4 separate regions of the Homo sapiens genome follow, and regions 2, 3 and 4 are each linked to region 1. The links are contacts of gene promoters, found by promoter capture Hi-C in human tissues and cell types (Jung and others, 2019). All regions are on one chromosome and are shown on one strand. Each heading gives the region's core, a stretch centred on a gene start or on the middle of the fragment in contact. The rest is flanking DNA. Distances are from core to core; before and after follow the strand shown.

The links. Contacts are between HindIII fragments. The study calls those that stand out against the background at their distance.
Region 2: a fragment that was not itself captured here is called in contact with the fragment with the promoter of DHDDS in region 1 in 2 of the 25 tissues and cell types used here (dorsolateral prefrontal cortex and spleen).
Region 3: a fragment that was not itself captured here is called in contact with the fragment with the promoter of DHDDS in region 1 in 1 of the 25 tissues and cell types used here (neural progenitor cells).
Region 4: a contact is called between a fragment that was not itself captured here and the fragment with the promoter of DHDDS in region 1, in 1 of the 25 tissues and cell types used here (hippocampus).

What each region holds. Positions count from the first base shown.
Region 1 is chr1:26,430,688-26,434,004 of GRCh38, reverse strand. It overlaps DHDDS (dehydrodolichyl diphosphate synthase subunit), which reads right to left and starts at 1,684. Exons shown (of 9, transcript NM_205861.3): 1 at 1,629-1,684; 2 at 997-1,114. The coding sequence starts at 1,059. It overlaps LOC124903883 (a long non-coding RNA gene), which reads left to right and starts at 1,768. Exons shown (of 2, transcript XR_007065557.1): 1 at 1,768-2,032; 2 at 2,887-3,250. RefSeq lists enhancers at 1,365-1,854, 1,392-1,928, 1,955-2,014, 2,085-2,144, 1,929-2,465. The HindIII fragment of the contact is 9,291 bases long and covers 1-3,317 here.
Region 2 is chr1:26,881,921-26,885,027 of GRCh38, reverse strand. GPN2 (GPN-loop GTPase 2) reads left to right here. Exons shown (of 5, transcript NM_018066.4): 4 at 738-868. Among named protein-coding and RNA genes, the nearest start is that of GPN2, 6.8 kb to the left of the region's middle. The HindIII fragment of the contact is 7,583 bases long and covers 1-3,107 here.
Region 3 is chr1:26,128,364-26,131,426 of GRCh38, reverse strand. No RefSeq gene overlaps it. Among named protein-coding and RNA genes, the nearest start is that of PDIK1L, 18 kb to the right of the region's middle. RefSeq lists a silencer at 2,475-2,769. The HindIII fragment of the contact is 7,689 bases long and covers 1-3,063 here.
Region 4 is chr1:26,780,472-26,783,774 of GRCh38, reverse strand. It overlaps ARID1A (AT-rich interaction domain 1A), which reads right to left. Exons shown (of 20, transcript NM_006015.6): 20 at 1,671-3,303. The coding sequence ends at 3,019. Among named protein-coding and RNA genes, the nearest start is that of PIGV, 5.8 kb to the left of the region's middle. The HindIII fragment of the contact is 6,774 bases long and covers 1-3,303 here.

The DNA.
Region 1 (3,317 bases), core at 435-2,934:
CCCAGCACTTTGGGAGGCTGAGATAGGTGGATCACCTGAGGTCAGGAGTTCGAGACCAGCCTGGCCAATATGAGAATCCCATCTCTACTAAAAATATAAAAATTAGCCATGTGTGGTAGCATATGCCTGTAACCCCAGCTACTTGGGAGGCTAAGGCAAGAGAATTGCTTGAACTTGGCAGATGAAGGTTGCAGTAAGCCAAGATTGCGCCATTGCACTCCAGCCTGGGCGACAGAGCGAGACTCCATCTCAAAATAAAAAAAAGAACAGGAATTTCACCCATGTTTGTCTGCGTCTAGAGCCCAAACTCTTTTTTTTTTTTTTTTTTTGAGACAGAGTCTTGTTCTGAACTCTTTTTTTTGAGACAGTCCCGTTCTGTCACCCAGGCTGGAGTGTGGTGGCACAATCATGACTCACTGCAGCTTTGACCTGGGCTCAAGAAATTCTCCCACTTCAGCCTTCCGAGTAGCTGGGACTACAGGTGCACACCACCAAGCCCTGCTATTTTTTTAATTTTTTGGAGAATCGGGGTTTTGCCATGTTGCCCAGGCTGGTCTCAACTCCTGAGCTCAAACAATCTGCCCACCTCAGCCTCCCAAATTGCTGGGATTACAGGCGTGAGTGACCGGGCCCAGCTCTACTGACAGATCAAAGAATATATCAAAGATTAACCTATTTAAATCAAGAAGACAGTACATGGAACAATGGATCAATGTTCCAGGGAAACAAATTTCAGTTCTCTATAAAGAATACTTAGCAGTCTAGGCTGCCCAGTGACATTAAGAGGCCTGGGCTTCCAGAAAATATCAGAGTTAGGACAAAAGTCTACCAGAAATGTAGACCTGGAAGTTACCATTCTAAGACTCTTTGGTTTCCTTGCTAAATTCCACTTAACATCATGAATTGCACTTAACATCATCAACTTTAATAACAGGTTTTTATATAAGATTATCCAACTGACCAGAAGGCCAACCGGTGCTCTGGGCCATTGCTCACCTTTATGATGTTGGCACAGAACCGCTCCCAAAGTGACAGCTCTCCTTCCTTGATCCATGACATAGTTCTTTTCCAGTCAGAAGATCACTCCAGAACAAGCAAACACCAGCCAGGTAATCTTGGATAAACAAGAAAGAAAATAAGAAGTCACCAAGGTTTGCGAAGAGCTATAACTGACTTCTGGGGAATCAGATGGACTATGGAGAGCAGCCAGCATTAGAATCCAAAGACACTGGTCTAAGCCTATAATCTTTTACCACCCAGAGTTTTATAACGCAATGTGACCTCTGGAGGCAAAAGCCTTTCCTCGGTTCTCCTGGCTTTGCAGACTTCTTCCCATTCCCATTTCCTCCGTATCTGCACTGACTTCTTCTGAACATCTAAGTCGGTTTCCTGCCACATCATGGTGCCCACATCTTGATCATTCCCCGTTTCTTCCTTCTCCATCTTCCCCTAAGCTGTTTCCAACTCTGTGCTCCCAGTTACTAACTCCTTCAGTTATCGCACGCCTAGTACTTCACGCCTCAGTGGTCTCCTGATTATTCCCTCAGTCGTCCCTTTGCTTCTCCCGCAGCTGCTCCCCGCCCAGTCACCCTCTTCTCCTCTAGTTCACCCCTTCAGTTCAGTGGCACCTGATTAGCTCCGCTGGGCGCGTCCCCACGGCTTCAGTGGGCCGGCACTTCCTCATGACGTGGCGCTGGCAGAACACGTCATCTTTGGGCGCTGCGACACGCCCCTTCCGTCACCCAAACTGAGGGGACCCTGCCCTGCGCCTGCGCCTGCGAGCTAGTGGGAGGGCGGTTCTCAGTCCCGCGGGGTGTGGAAGCCGGCGCGGGTGAGAGCCAGGCTCACGTGACCGAGCGGGGCGGGAGGCTGGGCTCCAGGCCACGTGCTGGGAGACCAGCTGGGGAAGACAGGGTTGAGCCCAGCGTTGGGAGCGGAGGCGTCTGGAAAACGCGCCAGGGAAATGAGCCAGGGGCAAGAATCGAGGCGCTTCTCGGCCGTCGAAGGCAGCTTAGGACTGCTGAGAGACTGGGTAAGGCAGCGTCCTTACCTTGGAATGCCGCAGAACCGGGCTTCATTAGAGCACTGGTGCATACTCTTAAAAATTATCTCGTTACCGTTTCGTATTTTATTTAGTGGATTTAATCGTCTGGGAAGGAGTTTCTAGCCGCAGCCAATCTTACAGACGCGCAGAATATTAATCTATTTTGTGCCGACTTAAGGCACGCATATTTTAGGATTTGTGGATTCCCAAGACCTATCCCAACGAACTCAAGAGAAGGGGTAAGGCCAGAAAGATTTCTGCCATAAGAATGACTTCTAGGCCAGGCGCGGTGGCTCACGCCTGTAATCCCAGCACTTTGGGAGGCCGAGGCGAACGGATCACCTGAGGTCAGGAGTTTGAGACCAGCCTGACCAACATCGTGAAACCCCGTCTGTACTAAAAATACAGAAAATGAGCCGGGCGTGGTGGCGGGCGCCTGTTATCCCAGTTACTCGGGAGGGTGAGGCAAGAGAATCGCTTGAACCCGGGAGGCGGAGGTTGCGGTGAGCCAAGATCAGGCCACTGCACTCCAGCCTGGGCAACAGGAGCGAAACTCTGTCTGAAAAAAGAAAAAAAAAAAAAGCATGACTTCTAAAATAACAGAAAGGTGCTCGCTTTGGCAGTACATAAATGAAAATAACAGAAATTAACCCTGGTAGAAAAGTTAAGGGCATTAGCTCTACTGAACCTTTACGAAAAAAAGGGTTGCAAGAATTCTAGGCTCACAAAACAAATTTGTAGTTCAATTTTCTCAAAATTGAAAGAGGAGGAAAAAATTCTTTACAGATTCTTATACAACCAGTATTATTTTTATTTATTTATTTATTTATTTATTTATTTAGAGACGGAGTCTGGCTATGTCGCCCAGGCTGGAGTGCAGTGGCGCGATCTCGGCTCACTGCAGCCTCCGCCTCCCGGGTTCAAGCGTTTCTCCTGCTTCATCCTCCTGAGTAGCTGGGACTACAGGCGCGTGCCACCAAGCCTGGCTAATTTTTGTATTTTTAGTAGAGACAGGGTTTCACCATTTTGGCCAGGATGGTTTTGATCTCTTGACCTCGTTATCTGCCTGCCTAGACCTTCCAAAGTGCTGGAATTACAGGCGTGAGCCACCGCGCCCGGCCACAACCAGTATTTCTTGCAAAGCATAATACAACTTTATGTAGTATTATGTTTTGAGTGGAATAAAAATTCACAATTGTCAAAGAACCTTTTTGTCGCATTTCATTTTACAATATTATTAAAGAAATGAGGCAAGGAAGAGATGTTTTATTGG
Region 2 (3,107 bases), core at 9-2,508, 450 kb before region 1:
TGGATGAGGAAACAGTTATAGTTTTTTTTTGTTTTGTTTTGTTTTTTGTGACGGAGTCTCACTCTGTCACCCAGGCTGGAGTGCAGTGCGTTATCTTGGCTCACTGCAACCTCTGCCTCCTGGGTTCAACCGATTCTCCTGCCTCAGCTTCCCAAGTAACTGGGATTACAGGCATCCATCACCATGCCCAACTAATTTTTGTATTTTCAGTAGAGACAGGGTTTCACCATGTTGGCCAGGCTGCTCTTGAACTCCTGACCTTAAGTGATCTACCTGCCTTGGCCTCCCAAAGTGCTGGGCTTTACAGGTGTGAACCACCGTGCCTGGCCCAGTTATAGATTTAAAACATGCATATTCATTGGATGTCTACTTAAGAGAAGTACTGTGCCAGGCACTGGGAATACTGCGACAGATGACCTGGCCCTAAGGGGTGTTTAGTTGAGTAGGGGAGGCAGGTGAGTTAATAGGCGTTTATTACATGGCAGGGATACCATGTACAATAGGTGTAAACCCAGGGGACTGTGGATATGCATAGGGGAGCTTATCTGTTCTAATCTGAGTGAGTTGGTGGTCAGGAAACATGAGATTTATCCAGCCTTTGGGGACATGTAGAACTACTCCAGGCCAAGAAAGCTACAGGTACAGAGGCAAGATGGAGGAAGGTGTATTTAGAGATTGCAAGCAGTTTTACATACTTCTGTTTCACTCACAGAACTGTTTCTCTCCTCCCTGCTCAGGACAAGGAGAGCATCCAGCGAGTCCTGCAGGCTGTGGATAAAGCCAATGGATACTGTTTCAGAGCCCAAGAGCAGCGAAGCTTGGAAGCCATGATGTCTGCCGCAATGGGAGCCGACTTCCATTTCTCTTCGTATCCTTGCCAGCTTCCTGGCCATAGCAGAGAGGGTGAGACATGGGACTCAAGAATGGCCACAGGAGGTGCAGTCATCAACCTTGTGGATGACCAATTTCTTTTTTTTTTTTTTTTTTTGAGATGGAGTCTTGCTCTGTCGCCCAGGCTGGAGTGCAGTGGCACGATCTCAGCTCACTGCAAGCTCTGCCTCCCGGGTTCACGCCACTCTCCTGCCCCAGCCTCCTGAGTAGCTGGGACTACAGCCACCCACCACCACGCCCAGCTAATTTTTTGTATTTTTAGTAGAGACGGGGTTTCACTGTGTTGGCCAGGATGGTCTTGATCTCCTGACCTTGTGATCCACCCAATTTCTTTTTTCTTTTTTTTTTTTGAAAGGGAGTTTCGCTCTTGTTGCCCAGGCTGGATCGCACAATGGCGCAATCTTGGCTCTGTGTAACCTCTGCCTCCCATATTCAAGCAATTCTCCTGCCTCAGCCTCCCAAGTAGCTGGTATTAGTGTGCGCCACTGTGCCCAGTTAGTTTTTATATTTTTAGTAGAGACGGGGTTTCACCATGTTGGCCAGGCTGGTCTGGAACTCTTGACCTCAGGTGATCCACCTGCCTCAGCCTCCCAAAGTGCTGGGATTACAGGCATGAGCCACTGCGCCCGGCCGTGGATGACTGATTTCATATTGATCAGTTGGGCTTCCTGATGACTGTCTCTCATGTGCAAAGGTGGTCCCTTGGCTTCAGAGTTGGTTGTACTGAGGACAAGAGAGGATATTGATCAATAGGAGTAACAAATACAGAGGCCCAGAAATGAGAGGGCATTAGTCATTCGGGAGAGATGCAGGAGTCCAGTTCCTGGTGTGTTGCATGTGAAGAGGAAAGGGCGTTGCAGGGGTACAGGCAGGGCTGCCGAGGGAGGGGCCTGAGTGCCCTACTAAGGAATGTGGACTTCAGTTCATGGGTGGGCAGTGGGAGCAAGTATTCAAGCAGTACTGTTGAACAGGGTGTGACACAATCAGATGTACATTTTAGAAAAGCCCCTGCAATTGTGGAAAATGCATTTAAGGGACGTGATTGGGGGCAAAAGAGTTTTACAGTCTTGCTAGGTGAGAAGGGTTGAAAGATTTGTAGTGAGAATAGAAAGAAAGGTGTAGAATGGAAAAATACTAAGGAGATAGACTGTAAGAGTCAGTGACTGAATGGGATAGATGGAGCTGGAGTAGAACTTAGCTTCCCAGATCTCTGGCTTAGACGGTGGGTGGTTGTACTAATCACTGAGGCAGGAAAAGGAGGAGGGAGCAGGTTTGTCACATGGATGAAAGGGACAAGAGCTGGCAGATGTGCTGTGTTCAGGGGTCCATGGGACATCCAGAGCTGTCCAAGAGGCAGCCAGACTTTTGGAGCTTGGTTAGTGACTAATGAGGCTGGAGCCAAGGTCATGGGTAGGTGTCCATCAGGTCACAGAGGCCATGCGTGAAGCAGGACAGAAAAGTCCAGGCCCTCTAGGCTGATGCTCTCACAGATTCAGCATCTATGCAGCATGCTGGAGACAAGGGGGACTCAGGAGTCTTAGGGTATAGAGGAAAATAATTCCAGCCAACACTTACTGATGTTTCTCGAGCCATATGTGGGAAACAAAGCTCATGGGGTCGGGGTTGGAGGAATGACTTATAAATGATGGCAGTAGAGTGTGCAGTCCCTGATGAAGGTACTAAGGAGCTGCGTCACACCTGCAGTTAATGTAGGCCAATTGGACTGCATGTGCTCAGCAAAAGAGGGGAGGAGCAATTTTTTTTTTAAATTTAAGATGGACTTTCTTTTGCTGTTGTTGCCCAGGCTGGAATGCAATCTCCAACTCCAGGGTTCAAGTGATTCTCCTCCCTCAGCCTCCTAAGTAGCTGGGATTACAGGCATGCTCCACCACACCTGGCCCTTTTTTTTTTTTTTTTTTGAGACGGACCGTCAATCTTGTTGCCCCAGTTGGAGTGCAATGGTGCAATCTCAGCTCACTGCAACCTCCATCTCCCACGTTCAAGCAATTCTCCTGCCTCAGCCTCCCGAGTAAGTGGGATAATAGGCGCCCGCCACCACGCTCAGCTAATTTTTTGTATTTTTAGTAGAGACAGCGTTTTACCATGTTGGCCAGGCTGGTTTCGAACTCCTGAACTCAGGTGATCCACCTGCCTTGGCCTCCCAAAGTGCTGGGATTATAGGCGTGAGCCACCATGCCCGGCCTGCAACTTTTATA
Region 3 (3,063 bases), core at 5-2,504, 300 kb after region 1:
TTATCCATCTGTGTGTGCATATTGTCTACTTTTTCCATTGAAGTCCTTAGCATATTAATCACAATTTAAAAAAAAATCCCTGGCCTGATAGTTCCAGGATTCTTGCCATAACTGACTCAGATTCTGATGATTGTTCAGACTTTTCAAATTGTATTTTTTGCTTTTTAGTATCCCTTGTACTTTTTTGTGAAAGGTGGATGGAATGTACTGGCTAAAGGAACTGCCATAAATAGGCCTTTAGTAATGTAGTAACATTTGGGGATGGTGGGTGTTCTATAATCCTATGATTTGGTCATGGGCTTTTCATAGGTGAGCCTGTGCCCTTGGACTGTGAACTTCACCAGTGCTTCTCTTGGTGAAGTTCCCTTAGGTGGTCAGGATGGCTAGAGGGGGCTGGAATACCCTCAGATAGGTTAGGGTCAGCTGATAAAACCACAACAGATGAGGCTGTGGTAAAATAGTTGCTCCTGAGGGTTGTCCTTGTTAAGAACAGAATGTTCAGGCAGGTTTCAAAATGGTTCCTTTCCCCCTCCCGTTAGCAGAAGAATGAGCACCTGTGAGGATCTGGCAGAGCTCCTGGAGGTAATAGTGTGGGGAGCCTCCTGTGATTGGGTCCCCCTGGGCTTTTTAACTCTCAGAGTTGACCATACTAAGCAATTCATCAATTACAGTTTAGGTTTTCCTACCCCTGCACCTTTTCCACACTAGTAAATTGTGATATTCTGTATCTACCAATGCATCTCTCCAATTACAGGGGCAGCAGTTTGCCCTGTGACCTCACTGCTCTGACATATCTAAGAAGAGTGGTTGATTTTTCCATGTGTTCAGCTTTTTAATTGTTGTTAGGATGGAGTGGTGACTTTTAGGCTCCTTTTGTGCCAAACCAGAAATTAGAAGTCCTAATTTTTTTTTTTTTTTTTTGAGTTGGGGTTTTGCTTTGTCTCCAGGCTGGAGTGCAGTGGTGCGATCTCGGCTCACTGCAGCCTCCAACTCCTGGGCTCAAGTGCTCCTCCCGCCTCAGCCTCCTGAATAGCTGGGACTACAGGCATGTGCCACCACACCAGAACCCCCAGCTAATTCCTTTTTTTTTTTTTCCCGGTAAAGATGAGGTCTCATTATGTTGCCCAGGCTGGTCTTGAACTTCTGGACTTAAGCAATCCTCTTGCCTTGGCCTTCCGAAGTGCTAGGATCACAGGCATGAGCCACTGTACCTGGCCCATTTCTAATATTTTTAATTGGCTGGCAGACATTTTGAATTTTATATTGTTGAGAAGTGGAATTTTTGGACTCAAGTATTTTTGAGCTTTGTTCTAGCACATTATGTTACTTAGAAAAAAATGTATTTTGTTAAATAAAATGTATAGGAGACCATTATTTTGGACTAGCCTCGTACACTAGCACTAGCAGACCGAGCCAAATCAGAATGGAGTCACTCATGCTGGGTGCCACATAATTAAACTGAACTCTGAAACAGGCCAGTCCACCCCCCACCCCGCTACCAAAAAAATACCCCCAGGAGATTCGCAGCAACCAATCAAAAGGGGCCCAGTTTACCTGAGCTGGCATGAAAATGAAGTTCCCTCTGTTTTTGTTGTTGTTGTTGTTTTTAATTTTTAAATTTTAATCTTTTTATTTATTTAGAGACTGGTTCATTTTTGCTAAATTGCTTGTCTTTCCGAGTTTCATAGCAGAGTTTTTGGTCTGTTTAAATTCATTATAAATAGACATTTAGGATGTCAGCTTCTGACCTCATGGACTGTGAGCTTACAAGTCCCCTGGTCTGTCACAGGCCATGCATATGAGGAATAAAAAATCAAAACATTTAAGTAATTTTGTTATAAAGAAATATAGTTATGCACCCCAAACACAGAAAACATTTCATTAAAAATTGGTCTTAGTCCTGCTGGGCGTGCCAGTGATTCTTTTAGGTTTGGACCTTGACTGAGAGAATTTCCAGTCGCTCTCTCCTCTCTGGGCAGAAGTTCCAGATCCTCTCTGGGCAGAAGTTCCAGATGATCTGATGGGCAGGGACTTAGGCTGTGTCCCCTGGGGGCTCTGGTCCACTAGTTGTTGGGACCGCCTGGGAGGGCGCAGCAACCCACTACGCCTGTGTCTGTTTTAACTCTATAAGGAAAGTAACTTTGAAACAACCAGACAATTTTCTGTTCTCTGTTTCTGCTTTTCTCAGGCCTTTTCTGTCTATAAAACCATACTTTTCTGCTTGGCTTATCGGAATACTCACTGTATTTTATAGAATAAGGTGTTGCCTTTTTCTAGAATCACAAAGAAAAGCCAATATAGATCTTTAAATCAAATTTGCTATAATTTTGTCTGTGTACCTTTCAAGACTTACTTTTAAGCTTGGATAGACAGGTCCAGAATAGCTGTTAGCCTTGGCCTCACTACTGAGACAATACTCTTCTGTGATGCTCTGTATATTGGAAGAAGGTCTTTCTGTTCTGGCTGGTGGAAATATCAATTATTCTTGGTCCTGTGTGAGCTCCAGGATTGTTCTGCCTAATCCTTTCAGGGGATCTTTCCTGCATTCAGGTCTGATAGTTTCTTCATAAGCATGACTGATTAGTACTTAGCTGATACTGTGTGTGTGAATGTGAGTGTGTGAGTGTGTGTGTGTGTGTGAGAGAGAGAGAGAGAGAGAGTGTGTGTGTGAGTGTGTATGTTTTCTTTAAGGCAGGTCTTGCTCTGCCGCCCAGGGTGGAGTGCAGCGTGGTGATTCCAGCTCACTGCAGCCTTGACTTTCCTGGGTTCAGGTGATTCTCCCAACTCAGCCTCCAAGTAGCTGGGACTATAGGCAAACACCATCACACCTGGATAATTTTATTTTATTTTTTGTAGAGACAGGGTTTCACCATGTTGCCTAGGCTGGTCTCCAACTCTTGGGCTCAAGTGATCATTCTGGCTTGGCCTCTTAAAGTACTGGGATTACAGATGTGAGTTACCTGGCCCTGCCTCAGCTGATGTCTTGAAAAAAACTTTCTGCAAAGGTCTGGAACTCTCACCGACAAATAAAAAACAGGACAAAAAAGAAAAGAAAAAAAATAA
Region 4 (3,303 bases), core at 161-2,660, 350 kb before region 1:
TATTCAAATCCTGTTCCTGACCCAAATATTAACAGCCACACTTAGTCTGATGAACACTTGATTGAAATTCTGAGGACAATTTTACCTCGTGCTAAAGACAATAAAAACAAATCTTGCTTGCTGAGCTCCACAGCTAGATCCCTTACTCCTGGGTTGGGTTCTCATCCAGAAAGGAGGTAGTGTGGTATATTAAGAAAAGCATGATCCTTGGAGTCAGGTGGAACTTGCTTGGTGTATGAACTTAAAAAGCCTTTCACTTTTCTTAGCCTCTTTCTTCAACTGTAAAATGGGAGCCACATACTGACTTCACAGGCACAGGATTGTTGTAGGATTGTGATGTGCTATGTCCAGAATATAAGTAGGTACACAATAGAAAACTGTTGTTTCTTGTTTCAAATTTCACTTCTAAGTGTCCACAATGATAGCATTTTTTCTCTTTCTGCTTCTGATTTCTCCTGAGGAACTTGAGGCTTCTCTATTGTTTCCCTAAGGAAGGGGGTGAACAGAGAAACTATATATTGTGACATTAGCCTCATAAAAGCAACTGCATCTAGCCAACATCGACAGTATCATTCAACTACTACTTAAGTAGATGCTATGTGCCAGTCTATGTGTTAGCACCAGGATGCAGCAGTGAACAAAACACCCCTCCCACCACCCTCAGTTTACATTTCAGTGGAAGGTGACAGGTAAGTACAACACACAACAGGCCAGACAGTAACAAGTGCCACAGGAAAAATAAGGCAGACAAGGGAAACATAGTGGGGGGCAGAGATTGCTATTCTAAGTAAGGTGACCATGAAAAGCCTTACTTATATATTTGGACAAAGACTTGAAGCAGTCGAGGACTTGAGCCATGCAGTTATTTGGTGAGAGAGTATAAAGTACAAAGACTCCAAGGTGGAAACATCTCTATACAGTGGGGTGAGCAACGGGCAAGACAGATGGTGCAGGAAAGGTAGAGGTAAGCTAGATAACTCAGGGCCTTGTAGGCCACTTTTTAAGAGTCTGGATTTTTACTTACTGAGTCAGAAGCACTGAAGGCGTTTGATCTGACTTACCTTTTATAGGGGTCCTTTTGGTTGCTCTGTTGAGAATAGGTTCAACCAGGCAAAGCAGAAGCAGGGAGGCCAATTTGGAGGTATTTCAAGAATCCAAGATATGACAGTATCTTGAACTACAGTAGTGTGGGATTGAGGATTATTTTATGAAGAGTGCTAACAGATTGGATGTGGAAGTGAAAGAAGTCAAGGATTTTTTTAGCCAAGTGATAGAATGGAGTTGCCATTTACTAAAAGGAAAACACAAACAAAAAAACCAAAACTATGGGAGAAGCAGGTTTCTAGTGGGGGAAGACAGGACATTTTAGCTTTGGCATGTTCAAAGTAAACTTCCAAGCAGGGATGACAAGAAAGGTGGCTGAATGCTCTAGTCTGGAGTCAGGGAAAAGAGCCAGTCCAGAGATATTATAAGTGATTAAGTTGGAGATTGCCTCCAGATAAATGGTTGTCTTATTTTGGAATATAGTAAATAAATGACAGGGTCCAGGAATGCCACTATTTAGGGGAGATCTCACACTAAGGGAGGTTTGCAAAAACAGGACTATCCCCCTGCCCCCCGACAAAAGGTCAAGTTTTAGTTTGAAAACAATAAAAAGCTTCACAAAAGTCTTACCAAGATTTAATGTACATTTATTCTTAACACGTGGAACATATAGTATAAAGATTTCATACTGAATAAATGATATTCATTAAGCCAAAAAAGGAAAAAAAGGAGGAATTTACATCAAGTTTTAGCTACATTGTTGAAATACAAATATGCAGATTTTATCACTGAAAAAATCTCAATTGTGTTTCTTCATCAGAACTTCAACTGAACCTAGAACTTTTTCACACCTCGATTAGAAAGAAAACAAAACAAAACAAAAACCCAGAAAAAAATAAACTATAAGTTGATTGGCTGCTGAGACAGCAAGGACTTTTTACAGAGACCTGTACAGCATCGCACCAAGAGGGGCGATATCTGGCAAGAGATTAAATAGCTGTGTCTCGCTTTGTGCAGGTCACCAACTTGTTAACTCGTCATACTATAAAGGGGTAGCTGGGAGGAGGACCAAACTGTGGGGATCCAAGGGTATGTGCAATGTACAACGTCATATATATACACACGTGGCAGCGTAGCCGCTGCAGCTAAAGGTTAAAACCAGTTCTAAGAGGTGATCTCAGGGTTATTCATACAATCAAGGAGGAGAGAAAGAGGTCAGGGTGTTGTAGGTTCACACATGATACTTTGGGGGAAAAGCCTTTTTTTTTTTTCTCCTCAACGTTTAACTAAAAACATTTTTAAAAACTACAGCTTGCTGCTGACCCAGCGTTTTCTGTTTCCATGTGAGACATTATTATTACAGTATGTTTACAGTATCAGGTGTACAGTACAGTACATGAAAGGGTCTACACTCTACTGCACAGGCCTCTCCAGTGAACAGGGTCTGTTCACAACTGCGAACTTCTTGGCTCCTGCAAGATTGTGAATGTACAACAATAAACCACACACAGTTCAGCAGTCACCTTTTTTGTCCTTCAGAATTTTTTTTTGTATTTTTTTTTTTTTTTTTTACCATTAAAAACAGTTATGAAATGTGGCATCCCGTTGATGCAAGGACTGGGAAAGCCATTTTTATTTTATTTTTTTTCCCCAAACTCACTGTAAACAACAGTAACTTTGGTTAAAATAAAAAAAGTCTTCTATGTAGGCAGAGCTTTGTCTTTTCAAAGAGGGTGGGGTAGGGTCCTGAGGGGAGTAAGGTGAGGACAAGGAACAGAAAGGCGTGAGGTGATGGAGGGAGGGGAGGTGGAAGGAGGAGAGAGAAACAGGAGAGACTTTTTCCCAAGGGAGAAGCTGGACAGCACAGGGTAAACTGGATTCTGAGGTGGTTTTGCATAAATAAAGGGCAACAGTCAGTTTCTAAGTTCTCCACACACGCACACACACACGGGGGGGGGAGGTGTCCCACGGCTGTCATGACTGGCCAATCAAAAACAGTACATCACAAATGACTTGTGAAACCAATGAGTTCATCAACGGTGATACCGAGATGTCCAACAGCCGTGATTCGTACAGAGTAAACTCTGAGTGGTTCTCGTCCACCTTGGCCAAGGCAAGCAGCGCGCGGGCAGCCCGCCGCATCATGTCCACACTAGTTGGCTCAAAGGGTGGGTTCTGCATGTGGAGGAGGCTGGCCTGGCTCTGCTGGAACTGTGTGGCGGCAAGGCTGTCCTCTAGGAAGCCCAGGAGGTTGCCGAT